2 separate regions of the Homo sapiens genome follow, and region 1 is linked to region 2. The links are contacts of gene promoters, found by promoter capture Hi-C in blood cells and fetal thymus (Javierre and others, 2016). All regions are on one chromosome and are shown on one strand. Each heading gives the region's core, a stretch centred on a gene start or on the middle of the fragment in contact. The rest is flanking DNA. Distances are from core to core; before and after follow the strand shown. Region 1 overlaps LOC105369850 (a long non-coding RNA gene). Region 2 holds the start of BBS10 (Bardet-Biedl syndrome 10).

The links. Contacts are between HindIII fragments. The CHiCAGO score rates a contact against its expected background, and 5 or more counts as called.
Region 1: a fragment that was not itself captured here is called in contact with the fragment with the promoter of BBS10 in region 2 in 1 of 17 cell types (neutrophils); the score reaches 5.4 in neutrophils.

What each region holds. Positions count from the first base shown.
Region 1 is chr12:76,593,961-76,599,625 of GRCh38, forward strand. The region is part of intron 3 of LOC105369850 (a long non-coding RNA gene); the gene reads left to right. Among named protein-coding and RNA genes, the nearest start is that of OSBPL8, 37 kb to the left of the region's middle. The HindIII fragment of the contact is 6,362 bases long and covers 1-5,246 here.
Region 2 is chr12:76,347,138-76,353,079 of GRCh38, forward strand. It overlaps BBS10 (Bardet-Biedl syndrome 10), which reads right to left and starts at 1,278. Exons shown (of 2, transcript NM_024685.4): 1 at 1,025-1,278; 2 at 1-650. The coding sequence starts at 1,221. OSBPL8 (oxysterol binding protein like 8) reads right to left here. Exons shown (of 24, transcript NM_020841.5): 24 at 4,660-5,942. RefSeq lists enhancers at 584-1,533, 1,534-2,483, 1,630-1,679. The HindIII fragment of the contact is 11,737 bases long and covers 1-5,942 here.

The DNA of each region.
Region 1 (5,665 bases), core at 816-3,315, 250 kb after region 2:
CTACACCTCCCGGGTTCCAGCGATTCTCCTGCCTCAGCCTCCTGGGTAGCTGGGATTACAAGCACACGCCACCGCACCCAGCTAATTTTTGTATTTTTAGTAGAGAAAAGGTTTCACCATGTTGGCCAGGCTGGTCTCAAACTCCTGACCTCAGGTGATCTGCCCGCCTTGGCCTCCCAAAGTGCTAGAATTACAGGCGTGAGCCACTGTGCCCAGCCATCAGCTATACATTTAATGCACCTATCTTATTCTTGAGAACAATACCCTATCCTTTTGAAGTGTTAGTCCTGCATGGGTTCCTTGGCTAAGTCTTTATTAGATTATTTTATTGTTCCATTAGGATGGCCAATTTCATGTTTATGCCCCATTATTACACCTATTTTATCATAAAATGGGCTCTTTGATATAAAAAAATAGGTAGAATTCAATGCCAGTAAATCAGGCATTCAGTAAGTTCTTGTACGGTGGGTGGTGCTGACAAAGGTACCTACAACAGTGAAGAAAAATGCATACCCATAATAGGTATCAATTCTGATAAGTACAATTTGCTATCCCCTCCAGGGTTGAAAGAGTCCAATATAATCAATTTCCCACTGAATGGTTGACTAGCCTTCTTAAGGGATGGTGCCATAATGAAGACTTAGCATTTATCTTTGCTGCTAATAGACTGGACAAGCAGCAGTGGCCCAGGAGAGAGGGAGTTCATGCTATTGGATCATTCACAGCCTTTATCCCTGCCACCATGGCCATGTAATTATCATAGGCCCATTGTGTAAACACAGATATTGCTGAGAAGAGAGACTGAATGATTTCTACTAGACAAGTCCTGTCTACTTGGTTGTTTAGTGCTTTCTCTGCAGTATAGGCTCTCTGATAGGCATTGAGGTAGCACACAAATTTCTGCACACTTTGAGCCTACTCCAGTGGTCTACCCATACATTTATTCCTTGGATATTTTTATTTCCCATCTTCCAGTCTTTCTCCTCTAGGCCTGTCTGACTAACCAACCAAGCCAATTGCCATCATTCAAAGGTCCATGTACATCTATACATCAGGCCTTTTCTTCCTTTATAGAAAGTAGTTGATCAGGTACACTGCTTACAGATCTGCAGTTGAGAGAATTTCCCTTCAAGAATACCCTTAAGTAGGGTGGTTGTGTAGCAGCAGTCCATTTGGAGTTAGCACCAACAGATTGAGATGAACTTTCTGTGATTAAGATTCCATGCGCTATTTTGCAACATCATGCATTTAGTCATTTGGAAAATAGTGCTTCATTGAGTTATGCATATCTTCCAAGTGCTGACAGATTTCATGTTGAAATACCCCAAAAAAATCACATGTGTTATTGTCACCACTGATCTCATCAGAAAATTTTTGAAGAATCAAGAAGCTGCCAAATTCATAGAGGTAGATATGAGTTTTAAAAAATTCTAAATTTTGTTTGAAAGCTCAAATGTTATCATTGGCAACAAACGCTGTGAGTTGTTTTCCTTGAAGTGACGGGATCACTTATTTTTGAGAAAAGTTCTGACACATACCTAAGTCTGAATAACTATAGTTTATCTGTCTGTCATTCTTTCAAGTAAAGATAATTTTCCATGTAAAATAGTGGCTTAACTCACGACTCAAGCACAAAAATCATTTTCTTTGAGATAACCTTAGAACTTTGGTGTGCAACAGGAATACATTATGCATTTTGTCTCACAGAATTTTAAAACATACATAATCAAGGGTTGAGATTTAATAAAATTAATCATGCTATTTTATCAAGAATAATATTAAATGAAACTGTCTTGCTTTTCTGGGATATAGCAGTAAATAATTCAATGTCTACTAGTACACTTTTGGTACCACTGCCTTAATTTCTGTTAAAGCACCAACAATTTTACCCACCATTGCCTTTGTTTCATAGTGCAAATGTCAACTCACTGAGAAAGCCAAGTAATGTCTTGGTATTATTGTAAAAATAGTTTTGATCTTGTATATACTTGAAAGGATCTGGGAAATTCCCTGGGGTCTGCAGACCACATTTTATGAACCATGGTCAAGAGAAAAATCTGAGTCCTATGTGGTAGCAATCCACTTTTCACACAATTTGCCCCTCTGAGAAGAGTCTGTGCTGTTTTCACCAATCCTGGCTTTGACGCCTCTCTCATTGGCCTTTTCTGCTTGCTGATATCATGACCATCATATTCCATTCTCGGTTCTAGTTCCGTTTCCCATGTCTAACCATTTATTCTTGTCATCAAAGTAAAGATTCTTTGCCTCTTTTTGTATCTACTTGATCAAATCTCACACAAATCTTTTAATGATTCTATTTTAATTCTTGATCTTTTGTTACCAAACAGGCCCTTCAGGATAGAACTTAATTTCATTCATTATTCTTTTATTCGTACATTATTTATTTATTTTAAAAAAAACATTTTCTGCAGACCTACTATGTCATTTCCCAGAGAGATAGCATTTGCTTTTGGCCTTAAAGGGTGACATTATTTGGACAGGTTAAATGAGTTTAAGTTTTTCAAAATATAATAAATAATACCAGATTTATGGAGGTAAAAACAACAACAATAGTAGGGAGATTGCTTAGGGAAGCTCAAGGAGAATGCACACGGTGAGTAATTAAAGACAAAGCCAGAAAGGCATTGCAGCGTCATCTCATAAAGTATGTTGAATGCTTGAAGTTTATTTTGGTAAGCAATAGGGAGCTACTGGAGATATTTGAGCAGAAGCAGAAGTAATGGTGTGAAACAGGCTCAATATCAGAGTCTGCTTAAGATTTATATGGAGGAAGAATTTGGTGGGAAAAAATAAACTTGAAGCAAGAAAACCAGGTTGGAGGCCTGAACTAGGTGGGTAGGCACAGAAATGGAGATGGATGGAGTTAGATTTTGAGTGCAAGTAAGATCAGTAGGCAGTGGTGAAGAAGTTTTTGTCAAAAATAATTACAGTTTCAAGCATGAATTACTAGGAGAATGGTGAACTATTAATAGAAATCAGATAATCAGAAAAAGGAACAGTTGGTGTGAGGCAAGATGATGAGTTCAGTTCTCTACCTGTTAGGCATATAAGTGGCTATACTCAGCGGGGGCCTATTTGTAAATTTTATACCATTTACAAGAACTGGAACCTAACAGATATTAGAAGATTGTGGTTTAGTTACACTGGCTTGATATGTCTCTTTGCAATATAAATATATTAAAGTGCAGTTGTTATTTTAATTTCCTGTGGAGTTTTTCTCTGGACAAATGTAGCAGGGATATATAGCTCTTCTGTGGTTCATACATCACAAAGATTGCTCTTATAAAATGATATATACTTATTGAGTGAGTGTGTATGTCAGTTATTATGCTAAATTTTACGTATTTTACATCAACTAATCCTTACATCAGCTTTGGTATTAGTATGTGGATTTTTATAAGAGAAATCAAGATGCAAAGAGGTTAAGTAGCTTTCCCAGGGTCAAACCGGAAGCAATGTAATGACATTTGAACCCAGGTTCTGAATGGCCCTTCTCTTTTGACTCTATACTGATAAAGTACCTATTTGCCTCCTTCCCTTTTCCTTTTCATAGAATGAAAGGACATGGTGCCTGTTAGCACAGACTACTGGTCTTTACTCTATGATTGTATCCAGGGATTCATTTAGTGCCTGCTTAGGAGATCTGTCTTAGGAAGGGCTTGTGATCACTGGCTCTTCTTGGGGCAACGACTTTCCTGAGAGAGATATTAAGTAATAAAATTATTTAACTAAAAAGTCACCCCTTAAAAAGAGCAAATAAAACAGTTTTGAATTATAACTATACTAAAGTCATTAAAAAATAACAAAAAGCTACATAAGGTCCTTTGAAACCACTTTAAATTTAGACAAACAGCAGAGAATGCCCTTAATAGCAAGTCTGAAGATCAAAGTGTGGAACTCTTCCTAAAGGAAACACAGAGGATGAAGAGTCTGGAGATTAATGTTGCAGTTGGCTGATGCTCCAACACAGTGCAGTGAGCAGGGATTCACCAAGAGGAAAGATACATCTGTGCTACAGGCTTTACATTGCACTGCCTGGCACTTGGTGAATTCTTAATATATATAAGTTCCTGTCTTTCTCCCCTTTTGTATTTTACAAAATGTTTTTCCACATCTCATTGTATTTACTCTATATAGTAAAAAGAAAACCCTGATGAATAAACTGTTATCATTCCCATTACAGAGGTACATAAACCTTTACTTGTTGAAGCTGAGAATGGCTGGATAATTCTGCAGCGCAATCTCTCCAACCTGAGTGTTCTGGTTTTGCACTCTCCCTGTAGGACTTTGTCATCTGTTCCCTGACCATTGGGCTGTTAACAAAGAGTGAAGGTTTTTCCAGTAGGAGGGGTCTTTCTGGTTGGAGTCCGAACTGAACATAGATCCCACATAAGTAAAGGCCCATGACACTTTTTGTGTAACACAATTAAACTTCCTTCATGCAGTAGCTGAGGGCATTACTGTTAATCCCTTGATGCCTAGGGTTGTGTGGGTGACATCTTTTATAGCAAAGAAATACTAGTTGTTTTACTTCACAGAATTATCAGATAAAGCCTCATGGAAAGTCTCAGACATGAGATAGAGCTTTAAGGACTGGTAGGATTTATATAAACCAGAGAAGCTCTGAAGGTTTGTCAGACATGAAGAAAAGCAAAAGTGTGATGTGATCATGTTCCACAAAGGAGACCTATCTGCCAACAGCATGAAGGGAAATGAAGAGGAGATAAGATTAACTAGATCTTCAAAGTTCAAATGATGGAAGATGTTGACCATGAAAATTTTAAATTTTGGCTATAATCCAGCAATCTCTAACGTTTTTGGCACCAGGGACTAGTTTTGTGGAAGACAATTTTTCCATGGACTGGGGTTGAGGGGATGGTTTTTGGATGATTCAAGCACATTACATTTATTGTGCACTTTATTTCTATTATTATTACATTGTAATATTTAATGAAATAATTATGCAACTCACCATCATGCAGAATCAGTGGGAGCCCTGAGCTTGCTTTCCTGCAACTAGATGGTCTGATCTGGGGGCGATGGGAGACAATGACAGATCATCAGGCACTGGATTCTTATAAGGAATGTACATCCTAGATTCCTCACATGCACAGTTCACAATAGGGTTCCTGCTCCTGCGAGAATCTAATGCCACCACTGATCTGACAGGAGGTGGAACTCAGGTGATAATGCGAGTGGTTGGGGGCAGCTATCGATACAGATGAAGCTTCTCTCACTCACCCACTGCTCACTTCCTGCTATGCAGCCCAGTTCCCAACAGGCCATAGAACTGTACCAGCCTGGGGGTTGGGGACCTCTGCTGTAACCTTTTGTTTTGTTTTGTTTTGTTTTGTTTTGAGGTGCAGTTTCGCTCTTGTTGCCCAGGCTGGAGTGCAATGGTGCGATCTCGGCTAACCACAACCTCCACCTCCTGGGTTCAAGCAATTCTCCTGCCTCAGCCTCCCTAGTAGCTGGGATTGCAGGCGTGCACCACCACGCCCAGCTAATTTTTTTTTATTTTTAGTAGAGACACGGTTTCTCCATGTTGGTCAGGCTGGTCTCAAACTCCCAACCTCAGGTGATATGCCCACCTCAGCCTCCTGAAGTGCTGGGATTACAGGCGTAAGCCACCACACCCGGCCTG
Region 2 (5,942 bases), core at 28-2,527:
ACTGTGCTTCTGAATTTAGAATAAACTCTGATCCAGAAGTGGAAAAAAGAGGCTGAATGGTTTCTGTTACTATCACCATTCGCATGTCACCATCTGCTGGGCGGTACACAGAAAAATCTTTCTGAAGCACAAGACCAGCTATGATCCTGGAATCTGAAACAGGAAGGCCAGTGACACCAACATTCAACTCTACAAAATGGTCATCCACTAACTCAAATACACCAATCCCACTTTTACAAGTCATACACTTGAAAAAGTAGTCACACATCAACTGTGAAATAAATTTATGATTATTTCTTCCCACTCTTCCACAAAAGTATGCTTCTAAGAGCAACTCTAAAGAGCTCCTACACAATGTTCTCTCTTTAGCAGACGAAAAGATAGACAAAAAGTGTCTACTTAGGTACTGGTCCATAATACCGTCTAATATTTGTGTCTGAAACGTTAGGAGAGCCTGGGAAATAAATTTCCACCGAGAACAATTTTTCCAATGCCTTCCATGGGTTTGAATGTTTTCACACATCAAAGGATCCTTTTCTCTGTCTGTGATTGCATGAAGTCCTCTAAGCAAATGGCAAAGAAAGATAATAAATGTTTTTGCACCATCTCCTGTTTTTTTGAGATGACTGGAAACACAGTCCACTATCATCCTGTACAAAAAAGAAATAAAGCAACTCATTTTCAGAAGGCTGGCTTCCCACATCTTAAAACCATGTTTACACAGCCATAAGCATAAAATGAGAATATTGTTCCTTGGATACATCCTTAGTTTTTTCCTTTCTTGGAAAAAACTCTGCTCTATTCCAAGATTCCACCGTTGGGTGGAGTGGGGAGAAGTGGTCTTGAGAATTGGTAAGATTTGGGGTGCAGGAGTGTTCCCTTGGGCAGGGCTCTAATTCCGAGCATACAGCGGTTTCACCCGAGGTCAGTCTTTCTAAGTACGCATCGCCTCAGGATGGGACAAGAGCTCCACAGAGGCTGCCTGGGGTGCCCGGCTACGGGTTAGCGTGTGGGACGCGGGTACCTGGCTATGGGATGCTCTAAGTGTAGCGCCTCCAGGAGGCGGCCTCCATTCCGGCTGAGAAGCACCTCGCCAGTGGGCTTCGTACACAAAACTTGCCGTCCCTCGGGCCCCACGCAGCAGCTCACGATGGCTTCCAGCACCTCGGCCACCTGCAACGCCGCCTTCACAGACCCTGCAGCGGCCATAGAACTTAACATATCTGGGCCGCTTCCCCTTTTTGACCAGCTTGCAGAACACCCGGGCCGACCGAAAACAGGGGTGGGAACGGCCGGAAACGGAATAGGCGGGGAGAAAACCCGGAAGCCAGGAGTCGAAGCCGGGGTAGCACGGCTTCTTGGTTGGGCGAGAGGGCTGCCCTTCTGTCCGCCTGGTGGAAAAGCCCTGCAGCTTTGCCAGGTGGGGTGAGCTGGCCCGTTGTACGCGAAGGCAGAAAAAACAGACTAGGATTTCCAGCAGCTGTGCCTGGAGCGGCAACCCTAAGCCCCTCCCCGGCTCCCTAGGTGAATTCATCTCCCTCCAGTGGCGTCCGCTGCCCCCAAATCCCTTAGTCTCCCGAGAAACTTTCTTCCTAAGTCAACACGGTAGTGGGGCCTGCGTGAAGGAGAGGGCACCCCGGTTGGAACTCTGCTGGCTTTCATCCCCTGCCAGAAGCTGCTTTTTCCGGGGCAAAACCTCTGCCTTGGATTCACGCATGTTCCTGTCCACATTCCCCACGAGTTGCTCTCCTTACCATAACGGAAATAATTTGTAGATGCAGGACAGGTGAGGAGAGCCTGGCCACAGCCATGAATTGCAGGCTTTATGTCTGCTGCAGAGGCTTTACCACATTTCCTAGACTCAGGTATCACAATAAAACTCTAGACACCACAAATATATTAAGCAGAAATGATGCGAAGTCTCTATTTTTTGAGATGGACTCCCGCTCTGTCGCCCAGGCTGGAGTGCAGTGGCGCAATCTCGGCTGACTGCAACCTCCGCCTCCCGGGCTCAAGCGATTCCCGTGCCTCAGCCTCTCAAGTAGCTGGGATTACAGGCATACGCCACTGTGCCCCGCCAATATTTGTATTTTTAGTAGAGATGGGGATGTCACCATGTTGACCAGGCTGGTCTCGAACTCATGACCTGAATGATCCACCTGCCACGGCCTTTCAGAGTGTTGGGATTACAGGCATGAGCCGCTGTGCAGATTTAAATCCATTAATCACGTCGGTGATCAACAGTATGCTTTAAAACACATGGCCAAGGATTATTGTATATAACCCAAAGACAGAAAATACTGTCTCTTATAACATTTTTTTTGTTTTTTAAGAGATGAAGTTTCACTCTGCCGCCCAGGCTGGAGTGCAGTGGCGAGATCATAGCTTACTGCAGCTCCGCATTCCTGAGCTCGTGATCCTCCTGTCTTAGCCTTCAAGTCGCTTTGTGCCTCACTACGCCTGGTTATTTTCTCTTTTAGTAGAGACAGGGTCTCCCTGTGTTGCCCAGGCTGATCTTGAATTCCTGGCCTCAAGTGATCCTCCCAACTTGGCCTTCCAAAGTTTTAGGATTACAGGCATGAGCCACCTTGCCTGGCCTAAAACACAGGCACTTGAGAGCATGGGCTTTGGATTCAGACCTGGATTTGCTCTGTCATTTCCTTACCTGTGGCATTCACCAAGTAACCTCTTTGATCTCTGCTTTTCTCATCTTTAAAAACAATGGGCCTGCCGCAGTGGCTCATGGCTGTAATTCCAGGACTTTGGGAGGCCGAGGTGGGAGATCACAGGAGGCCGAGAGTTCAAGACCAGCATGGCCAACATAGCAAAATCCCGTCTCTACTAAAAATACAAAAATTAGCTGGGCATGGTGGTGCATGCTTGTAATCCCAGCTACTCTGGAGGCTGAGGTATGAGAATAATTTGAACTCGGGAAGGGAGGTTGCAGTGAGCCAAGATTGCACCACTGCACTCCAGCCTGGGCGACAGAGCGAGACCTTGTCTCAAAACAAAACAATCCCCGCCAAAAAAACCAGTGGAGATAACATATACAAAATAAAAATCTCAAGAGGTTTTGAGTAGGTGGAGAATGTTCACTAAACACTTTGCATAGTGCCTGGCATAGTTAGCACTCAACAGATATTTATATTACACCTGTTAGAGGAAAAGGGTCCCAATCCAGACCCCAAGAGAGGGTTCTTGGATCTCATGCAAGAAAGAATTCAGGACGAGTCCATAAAGTGAAAGCAAGTTTATTAAGAAAGAGGAATAAAAGAATGGTTACTCCATAGGCAAAGCAGCCCCAAGGGCTGCTGGTTGCCGATTTTTATGGTTATTTCTTGATGATATGCTAAACAAGGAGTGGATTATTTATGCCTCCCCTCTTTAGGCCATATAGGGTAACTTCCTGACATTGCCATGGCATTTGTAAACTGTCTTTGGTGCTGGTGGGAGTATAGCAGTGAGGACAACCAGAGGTCACTCTCGTGGCCATCTTGGTTTTGGTGGGTTTTGGCTGGCTTCTTTACTGCAACCTGTTTTATCAGCAAGGTCTTTATGACCTGTATCTTGTGCCAACCTCCTATCTCATCCTGTGACTTAGAATGCCTTAATCATCTGGGAATGCAGCCTAGATCTTAGCCTCATTTTACCCAGCTCCTATTCAAGATGGAGTTGCTCTGGTTCAGATGCCTCTGACGCACCCACCAAATTACTGGAGTTGCTCTGGTTCAGATGCCTCTGACGCACCCACCAAATTACTGTGGTAGGTCACCACTCTCCTGGTTTATTATTCCCACAAGTGATATTTTGTGAGATGCAGAAGATTCAACTAGCATAATGGCACAACATACATCATCTAGAGTCGAAGCATGCCAGTATTAGCAAGAAAATGATCTTGTAGATGTTTCACGAGGTTGGACAATGAGGGGCCGTTTTCCTTAATCCTTATTGCTATGAACAAGATAGGAGGAACCGGCAGGCCCTCCCATCTTTTTCTCCCCAATTAATAAAACCAAACCAAATGACAGCCAGAAGCAACTGGACCCTGAGCAGAGAGCAAGAATGGGAAGAAAGGAGGGTGGGGGAAAACCAGAGAGGAATGATGTCTCGGAACTCATCTGATGTTGACTCAGTATGGACTAATAGGTGATCTGAGGGGGGAAAAAAAAACCCTTTCATATGGATTTCGTATATGTTTAATAGTAGGGTTTTTTTGTGGTGCTACTCATAACAAAGGGGTTACATTACTCAATATAGATTCAAGCAGTGGATTATATTCCTGACATTTAGAAGTGAAGTGCTATTAGAGTTCTATTTAAGTGTACCACGGAGATACAGATTCAAACTTGTGCTTTTACTCTTAAAGTAAGAGTCGGCTACCACTCTTACTCCGCAGCTTTTGGAGACTTTCAACCTCTCTGAGCCTCAGCATCTTCATGTATAAAATCTGGCTAACGTCCACCTAAGGTTCTCATAGAGGATTCGAGAAGAATGAATATAAGGCACCAAGCAAAGCATACTTCAGGGATTCTCACTGTTGAATCCCTTTCAAGCCCTTTGCCATCCTTTGCAGCTATCCCTATCCCCACAAAAGGGGGGATTAAAACAAATTAGCAATAATTTAGTCATCATATTGTATTAAAAGTCACTTGATCACCGTTTGCTCTTTTTAAAAATTTTATTTAGAAGCCTACTTGTAGAAGTTAGCATAATTTTACAGATTATTAGAAAAATTCTTTTCTTTCTGCAAACAGTTATAATAGGTTAGGAATAATAGATTAGAAATGTACTACATTACAAAACAGTGGCCTATAACTATCTGTACATTTACTGTGCACCTTAAGGAAAAGAATTTGACAGTGTGCTGTACTTACACTGCAGGTAACATATTTTTATTCTATCACACAAAACTGACCAGTGGTAGTGCTTGAATTTATGAATGGCCATTAAACAGAACATTTAAACTCAGATGTATATTTAGCATGCTAAAAAGTGAAAAAAATTTCAACTGAAGTTCTGTGGCTCATCAGTTCAAATGTTTCATGGCATTTTTTTTCTTTAAGTGAAAAATTTTGATACTGTAAAACAGTTTTACATAATAAATGCAAAAAGATAACATTTTCTAAATTTTTAGAAAGAATATTCACATTCATTTTGTCATGGGTTTCACGTGGCTCTTCTAAATATATTAATCATATTAATAAGACACTGGTCCTATACAATTTCAACAGTCCATCTTCAATTAAAAACTAACAAAAATAAACAGTATGTAAAGAGTAACAAAAAGTAAATTAAATATACTAAACTCACACAACAGGTAGAATAAAATGAAACCAAATTACATAATGGCAGGTTATACATTTTAAAGAATCTCTTTCCACTTAGTCAAATAAGATAGAAATTGAAATGTAAACTTACTGATTTCTGTGGGATTTTCCCCACTGGTTCAAATTGGAAAATTTGATATAAATCTAATATTTTATTTCTGTACATTTAATATGATTCAATATAATCTGCAGTCTCATGTATGGCTTATCAATAATGCCATCATCACTGTATGTCAAACAACCTCACTGCTTACTAGAAATGCTAAACACTGGAAAAAATGGAATTTTATACATTTGTTTTCTTAAATTTTGACAGATATTCTTCAGAAAGTTAAAACTGCCTTCCACAAAATTTTGTGTGTATATGGCACAAGGTGACAGCCAAAAAGTGTGATTCCATCGAAAAGGCACTGTTAACAATACTCAGAATAATCTGACAAGTCTACATCAATGTCTGAGTAAAGAATAGGTAAATAGACAAACCCCTATAAAAGATAGTATTATTGTTTAAATATACTATAGCTATATAAAAAGAAAGTAACACACAGAAATGACCCTTTTATGACAAGCCTATAAACACCTTGAATCACATTATAGTTCTGTAACACAAAAAAT